Linked DNA regions of Homo sapiens: all the other regions are linked to region 2. The links are contacts of gene promoters, found by promoter capture Hi-C in blood cells and fetal thymus (Javierre and others, 2016). All regions are on one chromosome and are shown on one strand. Each heading gives the region's core, a stretch centred on a gene start or on the middle of the fragment in contact. The rest is flanking DNA. Distances are from core to core; before and after follow the strand shown. Region 1 overlaps CTNND1 (catenin delta 1). Region 2 holds the start of SMTNL1 (smoothelin like 1). Region 3 overlaps CTNND1 (catenin delta 1).

Evidence for each region. Contacts are between HindIII fragments. The CHiCAGO score rates a contact against its expected background, and 5 or more counts as called.
Region 1: a contact is called between a fragment that was not itself captured here and the fragment with the promoter of SMTNL1 in region 2, in 1 of 17 cell types (total CD8 T cells). The highest score is 8.1, in total CD8 T cells.
Region 3: a contact is called between a fragment that was not itself captured here and the fragment with the promoter of SMTNL1 in region 2, in 2 of 17 cell types (naive CD8 T cells and total CD8 T cells). The highest score is 5.6, in naive CD8 T cells.

What each region holds. Positions count from the first base shown.
Region 1 is chr11:57,818,623-57,821,526 of GRCh38, forward strand. It overlaps CTNND1 (catenin delta 1), which reads left to right. Exons shown (of 21, transcript NM_001085458.2): 21 at 1-918. It overlaps TMX2-CTNND1 (TMX2-CTNND1 readthrough (NMD candidate)), which reads left to right. Exons shown (of 21, transcript NR_037646.1): 21 at 1-558. Among named protein-coding and RNA genes, the nearest start is that of CTNND1, 58 kb to the left of the region's middle. The HindIII fragment of the contact is 1,768 bases long and covers 647-2,414 here.
Region 2 is chr11:57,536,287-57,539,265 of GRCh38, forward strand. It overlaps SMTNL1 (smoothelin like 1), which reads left to right and starts at 1,309. Exons shown (of 8, transcript NM_001105565.3): 1 at 1,309-1,356. The HindIII fragment of the contact is 14,036 bases long and covers 229-2,979 here.
Region 3 is chr11:57,799,966-57,802,806 of GRCh38, forward strand. It overlaps CTNND1 (catenin delta 1), which reads left to right. Exons shown (of 21, transcript NM_001085458.2): 7 at 1,768-2,231. TMX2-CTNND1 (TMX2-CTNND1 readthrough (NMD candidate)) reads left to right here. Exons shown (of 21, transcript NR_037646.1): 8 at 1,768-2,231. Among named protein-coding and RNA genes, the nearest start is that of CTNND1, 40 kb to the left of the region's middle. RefSeq lists an enhancer at 548-787. The HindIII fragment of the contact is 603 bases long and covers 1,253-1,855 here.

The DNA of each region.
Region 1 (2,904 bases), core at 281-2,780, 280 kb after region 2:
TGTGAAACATTTTTTCTTCTGAAGATTCTTAAAAATTGAATGTGGCTGAAGTTGAACATGGGAGCTTATTGCTAATTTAGAGATAGGAAACTGAAGCATAAAGAATTAATGACTTACTTTAATTACTGGAATTCTTCTGCAACATTTGACAAAACTAACCTTGAATAAGGCCCACTGTAATACGTAGCTCTCTTAAATATAACACTTAGGACTAGAAGATTAGAAACTACCAATCCCAACTACGTAATAGGAAAATGTAGGATCAAAAGGCCCATGTATATAAGTACTGACCACTGGGCCATAATGTTGCTTCTCAGGCTATATGCAGTCCTTTAGTCAGAAGTCAATAGGCCTATTTATTAATATTTTACAGACCATATTACCTGGATTACCAGGGACTATCTTTGCTGCAGAGATCAAGGGTTAAGATCTATGGGAAGATACTTATTTTTCTGAGGTCCTTATGTCCTGTCATATAATTAAAGACTCAAGAGAATTTATGTGAAATGCTTTCTGTATGCCCAAATCTTTAGATTAAAATTATATAGCTGCTCCTGATGATGGTCCTGTCTTGTTTTATTGAACTAGGACTTGGGTATGAAAACTTTCATGGGCTAGTGAGACCAGGAAATCAACTAGCTTTTAAAGCTTGATTTGTGTCTAACAATTGTAGTGTTAGATTAGAGGTTGAAGTACAAAGCCAAAAAGCTATTAAGAGTTTACTTTCCAAAGAGTTTTGATAGCCCTGCTTGAGATGATTTTTATCTAAATAGAAAAGCCTGGCTGCTTGTCAGCAACACTTTATTTCCCTGTTATGTTCTTATCCTTTGGCATTGAGCTAGATACAAACCCTACTCTTCTCTCTTCCTTCTGGATTGGTCCATTTGTTTATCTCATTCAATAAATATTTGCCAAGCACCTCCTATATGCTAAGCGTTGTGTCAAGGTTAGGTTTAGATTAGAGAGTGAAACAGATGGATCTTTTCTCATAGATTGCAATCCATGAGAATCCTCTATAGCTAAGATCTATGATCAGACGAGATCGTGTGCGTTCAGGGTGATATGGCCATAGACAAGATCTATGATCTTAAAAACACTTCTCTCTGTGCCATATCTAAATACAATGAGATGTTACACAGAATGATGTGTAAAGGCCCTATCTCACAAGTTTCTTGACACTGATGTACTTTGTGACAGAGGTCAAAGCTGGGACCTCACTTGGCCACTTTTTTTTTTTTAGACAGAGTCTTGCTCTGTCACTCAGGGGCACAATCTCGGCTCACTGCAACCTCAGCCTCCTGGGTTCAAGCGATTCTTCTGCCTCAGCCTCCCGAGTAGCTGGGATTACAGGTGTGTACCACCACGCCTGGCTAATTTTGTATTTTTAGTAGAGACAGGATTTCACCATGTTGGCCAGGCTGGTCTCAAACTCCTGACCTCAAGTGATCCACCCTTCTTGGCCTCCCAAAGTGCTGGCATTACAGGTGTGAGGCACTGCGCATGGCCGGCCACTTGTTTTTCTTGCTGAACTAATTTTCTTTGCTACAAACTGGAATCACCTCACCCAGGAAGAACTAAGAACCAGTCTTTCCATATCATTTTTTTCTCATTTTGTCTATTTTTATATCTGAAGCAAAGGTTCTTAATATTTTCATAGATGGAATTGACTAGACCTAGCCCTGTATATCTGAGCAAGTTACATAAGAATTCCCTGTATGCTTGTTGAAAATGCAGAGTCCCATGTTCCATTTCCAAAAATCGATTCAGTAGGTGGGACTGAGGAATCTAAAATCATGGTAAGTCATCCAGGTTATCCTCTTTTTTTTTGTTTTTGTTTTTGTTTTTTTTTTTGAGACGGAATTTCACTCTTGTCACCCGGGCTGGAGTGCAATGCCACGATCTCAGCTCAGTGCAACCTCTGCCTCCCGGATTAAAGCGATTCTCCTGCCTCAGCCTCTTGATGAGCTGGGACTACAGGCACCCGCCACCACATCCAGCTAATACTTGTATTTTTAGTAGAGACGGGGTTTCACCATGTTGGCCAGGCTGGTCTTGAACTCCTGACCTCAGGTGATCCATCCACCTAGGCCTCCCAAAGTGCTGGGATTACAGGCATAAGCCACCATGCCTGGCCCATCCAGGTTATTCTGATGTATGTGGTCAGTTAACTGTGACTTAAGGGACTGATCTAGTGACTTGCTTAAGGTTATAGCCTCAAAGTGGAACCCAGGATTACTGGCTTCAACTCCACTGGCAGTAATACTAGCATGGTGAATGTAGACAATATGATGTGGTGATCACCATTTTAAGAGAGCATTCATAGAGGAAACTTTATCTCAAAGGAATGCATTGCTTTCAATAGAGTTTGAGATAATGGTAAGTGATAGGTTGGTGTGTGGTATCTGGGTAGGAGAAGCTTCTCATCCTGAAAATCATATGTAGGTAATGCTCAGGTTGCTGAGGCAGGAAGCTAGCCCTTAATTTGGGGTCCTGTAGGTCACAGAGAATCCCCTGGAATTGCCGACTTTGACTTAAGTGTCACTTCTAGCTACAAAGGGTATCTCAACTGGCGAGCAAGTGGCCCCATTGGCTAAAGCCAAGGAGACCACATCTGGAAACTTAAATCACTCTGGTAGCTTCCAGAAAGAGCTACCTCAGGAAAGCTCAAAAAAGAAACAAGATAATTGTTAGGAACAATTTTTTTTCACACAGCTTTAAGACTGTTCTGTTGCCTGTGTCACTTAAAGCATTAGTTCTTCAACTGATCCATCCAGGATTTAGAGACAGACATGGATGAAGAGAAAGCTGGAGGAGGTAAGATAGGTTGATTGGTCTGCATCATTTTAACCTGACATTTTTCTCCTTTTATGCAGTGTAAAATGACCATGGATAGCTATCCATGAA
Region 2 (2,979 bases), core at 59-2,558:
AATAAAAACTGCTGAAATGAGGGAGAGGAATTGAAGGTCATGGAAAACCTCTCTGAGGGAATGAAATTTCAGCTAAGTCCAGAAGAATGAGAGGGAGGCAGTCTTACAAAGAGTAGAAGGAAAAACCAGTCCTGAGTCTGAAAAGGGATGGATTTATTTAAGGAATAGGAAGGAGGCCAGTGTGGCCCAGTGGTGGGGCTTGGGGTAGGAGGACTGGGGGGGATCCCAAGCTTCGTGGGAGTGTCCTCTGCACCCATTCTCCAAAAGTAGTGCCTTTCTTAGATTGTAAAACACACAGAGAAAGTGAAGACTTTTTTTTGAGATGGAGTCTCTGTCACCCAAGCTGGAGTGCAGTGACTTGCTGCAACCTCTGCCTCCCAGGTTCAAGCAGTTCTCGTGCCTCAGCCTCCCAAGTAGCTGAGATTACAGGCATGCGCCACCAAGCCCGGCCAATTTTTGTATTTGTAGTAGAGACAGGGTTTCACCCTGTTGACCATGCTGTTCTTGAACTCCTGGCTTCAAGCAATCCACCCGCCTCGGCTGCCCAAAGTGCTGGGATTACAGGCATGAGCCACCATGCCCAGGCTTGTTTTGTTTTTTTCTTAGCAAAATGTCAGTTCAGTATAAAAATGTGTTCAGAGCCTACTGTGTACCTGTCACTTCAGCTCAAAATAGAACTCAGGAGTTTTGTATTTTCCAGGCTCCGTCCAGTGATCCGTCAGCTTGTCCCATCACTTTTGCCCTCTCTGCCCCTCCCCCTCCAAATCTCTCAGTCAACTGTGAGCCCCAAGACACATCCCCTGTGTTGGCAGCTGCCCTACTCGCCCCCTCCTTAGCCCAGCCTTAAGCAGCTGCTTTTGTCTGAGGACGAGGGAAAGGGGCTATGTAAGGAACGTGGCGGGGTGGGTGTGAAGGGAGCACAAGAGGCCTCGCCTGGGCTCTGGATGAGCAGTGGAGGCCAGGGCCATGCTCTAAATGAGTCCTGAAGATGGTTGTCAAGGTCCCTAGGGTTAGGAGAGTCCACTGGGGAGAAAGATGACCACAGGACGGATGCTGCCAGGCTCAGGGCGGAAGGGACGTGCCGTGATTGAAAGGTGCCACCTGTCAGATCTTCCACGGGAAATCCGAGCCTCCCAGTCTAGGGTAAAGTGTTGTACCAACAGGCCAGTAAACAATGCTCTTCAGGCAGCCCAAGACTCTTGAAGTGGGGGTGGGGTGGAAGAGGGAGAGGAAGGGGGGAGGCGGGACCAAAGAGCTGGGGGCTAGAGGCCACTGGGGCTTAAAGGCAGCCTGGGAGTGAGGCCACTCAGCTGGAGCAAAGAGACAGCTCCCAAGCCACAGGCAGAAGCCCCACAGGTAGGAGAAGCCCTGGCACCCTTTCTAAGGGTCCCTCCCCATCTGCCAATTCTCACTCCCACTGTCCAAGGGCCAGAGCCTCCCAGGAGGGCCCCCCATTTGGAGAAATCCAGGCTCCTTTCTAATTCTCTCCACCACAATGTCTACTCTCTTTAGATGCCTGGGGTCTCAGCCCTGCACCAGAGCACCTACAGAGCAGACTGCAAGTGGCCATCCACGAGGAGGCCACAGAGCAGGGGAGGGGACCTTGGGAGTCTCAAGAGTCAAACTGGGTTGGGGGGTAGACTGTCTAAGCCAAGCCTGTCCAGCCCACAGGCTACCTGTGGCCCAGGATGGCTTTGAATGTAGCCCAACATGAATTCATAAACTTTCTTAAAACATTATGAGATTTTTTTTTTTTTTGCAATTTTTGTTTTAGCTCATCCACTATCGTTAGTGTTAACGTATTTTACATGTGGCCCAAGACACTTCTACTTCTACCAGTGTGGCTCAAGGAAGCCAAAAGATTGGATACCCCTAGTCTAAGCAATTGAGGTCGGCCTCTCCAAGGGAGGGCCCCTGGCTGAGTGGGGAAGGTGGAAGCCTTAGGACAACCAGATGACAGATGAGGCTGCAGTGGGTGGCAGACGCACCACAGAACATCCAGTGTTTATACTACTGGGAGTTTGGATCTTGGGCTCCTGGGTCCCTTTCCTCCTGGTCTGCCAGAAGAAACAGGAAGAGAGAGGGAGGGGAGATATCTGCAGTGCTGCTTTGGACACAAAACAGGGATGGTTTGGAGACTTCCTGGGGAAGGAAGGAGGAAGGAAAGGAGAGAATAAGAAAGGAAGGTGGGGGCAGAGAAACTTTCATGAAGGGCCTACTGTGCACCTAGAAGAAAGAGGGAGGAACTCCTCGGCTGAATCTGACTGCCCTTCCCAACTGGTGGGGTGCCCCCACTCTGGGCCAGGGCCTTTGTAGGGACACTGGGCTGCGGAGCTAGTGGGAGCATATATTTGATGTGAGCTCTGGAGTGGAAGTTGGGATACTTGGATTCTAGATAGAGAGCCAGGCCACTTGTCCTATAACTTTAGTCAAGGGACTTCAACTCCCTGAGCCTGAAATCCCCATTGGCTCCCTAATGGGGCCAATAACCTATTCTGAAGGGTCGGAGCAAGAAATGACCAAGAGAAAGCAGGGCCTCCGCAGCATAAGCTGTAAACTGCTGTAGGGCTGTGAATGCTGGGGGTGGGTGGTGGCGTCCTGGTTTCTCAGCATTCTGAGCATCTTCACTCCTTTTCTATTTGTGACAAGCCTGGAGGGTGGAAAGCTGAGGTGATAAACACGCAGGATAGCCGAGGTGTGTGTCCGTGTGCGTGCACCTACCCTTCCCCTCCACCACCCTAAGTATGCAGCGTGTAGGCAGAAGGAAAGATGGTTAGAGCGGCCAGTCTCAGTGGCTCATACCTATAAACTCAGCACTTTAGGAGGCCGAGGCAGGAGGTTCACTTGAGGCCAAGAGTTTGAGACCAGCCTGGGAAACATAGCGAGACCCCATCTCTATAAAAAAAATAAAAAACAAAAAATTAGCCAGGTGTGATGGTGCACATCTGTGGTCACAGCTCCTCAGGAGGCTGAGGTGGG
Region 3 (2,841 bases), core at 304-2,803, 260 kb after region 2:
ATTTTGTTTCCGTGTTTTTTTTTTTTTTTTTTTTTTTTTTGAGATGGAGTCTTGCTCTGTCACCCAGGCTGGAGAGCAGTGGTGCGATCTGGTATTATACCCAGGAGGCTTTTTGTTCCATGCATGGTATTTTATAATGTTAGTAAATACTTTTCCTTAATTTTATAGTAAGCAGAAAATTTTTATGGTTGGGGTGGATGCAAAAGTGATACATAATAGTTTAGAAGACAACCAATTTTGTTTTACCAGCTGTTTGGGCATTTTTAGTACCCCCTTCTTGATTTGAAGGGTTTAATCTTGACCTTTTTTTTTTTTTCTTCGAAATAGAGTCTCGCTCTGTCACTTAGGCTGGAGTGCAGTGGCACAATCTCAGTTCACTGCAACCTCCACCTCTTGGGTTCAAGCGATTCTCTTGCCTCCGCCTCCCAAGTAGCTGGGATTACAGGTGCCCACCACCATGCCCAGCTAATTTTTGTATTTTTAGTAGAGATGGTGTTTTTCCATGTTGGCCATGCTGGTCTCGAACTTCTGACCTCAGGTAATCCGCCCACTGCAGCCTCCCAAAGTGCTGGGATTACAGATGTGAGCCACCATGCCTGGTCCTGTTTCCGTGTTATTTTAAGACCATCTTGGTCATGGTTTACTAAATGCTTTGTCCATCTGAATCACTGTTGCATAGTTGATGTTGATACCTGTGAGGCAGGCCTTCTGCTCAGGGCAACCTTGAGTATTTGTTGACAGTGGGAGTGGTTTTGTAGAACAAACAATGGCTTATTTGGAGAGCTCCACACAATAGATTATCCTCTCCTGTGGGAGCCAGAAAGAGATGAGCTCACAGATAATGGGTTTCTTCCTTCCTGGTAGTTACGAATAAATAATAGTGTGACAGACTCACCCTCTAGTGGTTGTTGGTAGTACTGAAACAGGAAGAATTGTCTCCTGGTTTGATTTTTCTTACTTTCAATTGCTTTCTCTGTTCCTAGTGGCTGGGCTTCCCAAATGTGATGTTGGTGAATAGGCTTCATTTTGAAAGAGCTGGAGGTATTGTCTTTAGAAATTGGAGGATGGAATCTTACCTCTTAACACATTTGTTGAGTAGCAGACATGACCTTGGAATGACTGTGAAAATTACTTTTCAAGTTTATACCTCATCAGTACCAAAGCCAGATCCTCCTGTGATGTAGCAGGAAGCCCTTTATTAGTTTTTCTCTATCAATCCATCTTTTATAATTTCCAAAATAGGATAAGGAGAAGCTTAAATATGAAATGTATTTAAAGGTCTTATCCTACCAGTTGTTTCCTGTGTGTAAATGCCTAATTTCCTGTTTGGTTAAGGAACTGTTCTCAGACTTCTGTGGCATTGAGTCAGTTGCTTTGGTTAATTCTGTTCTCTGAGAGTTTATCCTGATCTCTACCTAGACAAGTTAATAACTGTCAGATATCATTCAAATAAATGATAAGTAGTAAGGATTTGGTTCTTTCTTTTTGATTAGCCTTTCCTGAATGCTTGTTACTTTCTAAGCCTGCAGACTTCAAAGAAAAAAATGTAGTTTTAATTAAATTGCAGGTGTTTTTAAAATTATTACCTTTTATTTTTACTAACCCATTGAGGAAAATTGATCAGTATATTATTCATGCAAAGGAGAGATAAGATGAGCACACTGAAACTCCAGTTAATCCTCCTTTGCAGATGAGGGTAATGGGAATGTCCAGGAAGCTAGCCATAATGACTTGATGTATTCTCTTGGTTCTTCCAAAACTTCTCAGGAGCTATGAAGACATGATTGGTGAGGAGGTGCCATCGGATCAATACTACTGGGCTCCTTTGGCCCAGCATGAGCGAGGAAGTTTAGCAAGCTTGGATAGCCTGCGCAAAGGAGGGCCTCCACCTCCTAATTGGAGACAGCCAGAGCTGCCAGAGGTGATCGCCATGCTTGGATTCCGCTTGGATGCTGTCAAGTCCAATGCAGCTGCATACCTGCAACACTTATGCTACCGCAATGACAAGGTGAAGACTGACGTGCGGAAGCTCAAGGGCATCCCAGTACTGGTGGGATTGTTAGACCATCCCAAAAAGGAAGTGCACCTTGGAGCCTGTGGAGCTCTCAAGAATATCTCTTTTGGACGTGACCAGGATAACAAGATTGCCATAAAAAACTGTGATGGTGTGCCTGCCCTTGTGCGATTGCTTCGAAAGGCTCGTGATATGGACCTTACTGAAGTTATTACCGGTGAGTTCTAGGCCTAAGGAAAATTGCTAAGTCAGTGTTACTCTCTAGTGATGTTGAGAACTAGAGGGATTTCCAGACCTTTTACTTTTGATGAAAGGTTGTGAACTGGTGGCTGTGGGTCAAATCCATCTCACAGATTTGTTTGGATCACACAGCATTATTGAAATTTTAAAGAACTGGTTGCTGATGTTTAAAATTCAGAAGATTTCACTTAAAATTCCAGATTCTTGGCTTCTATTAAAAACGTGGAAGAGTTGTTAACAATGGATCTCTTTTCTTCCTTAGCAGTATTTGGTCTGAACTGATTGGAGCATGTGCTCTCTAATTTACACTAATCTCCAACACATTCTATTATCTGACCAACTACAGCTGTTTAGGAAGTTGTTTCCCAAACATGGAGCTGTCAACTGCTATTTTTTCACATGCTTGTAATTTCTTTTAATTATCTTCCTCTCTTGACTCACCGGCTTGACCCATATAGACATTTAAGCTTGTGGTTCTTGCTTTATTTAGAGCAGTAGTTTTTCAGATTGTGGGTTGTGATCTATTTGTGTGATCCGTTAGTGAATAAAACAAAATTTTGTGGAGCATAATCAGCATTCCAAGGGAA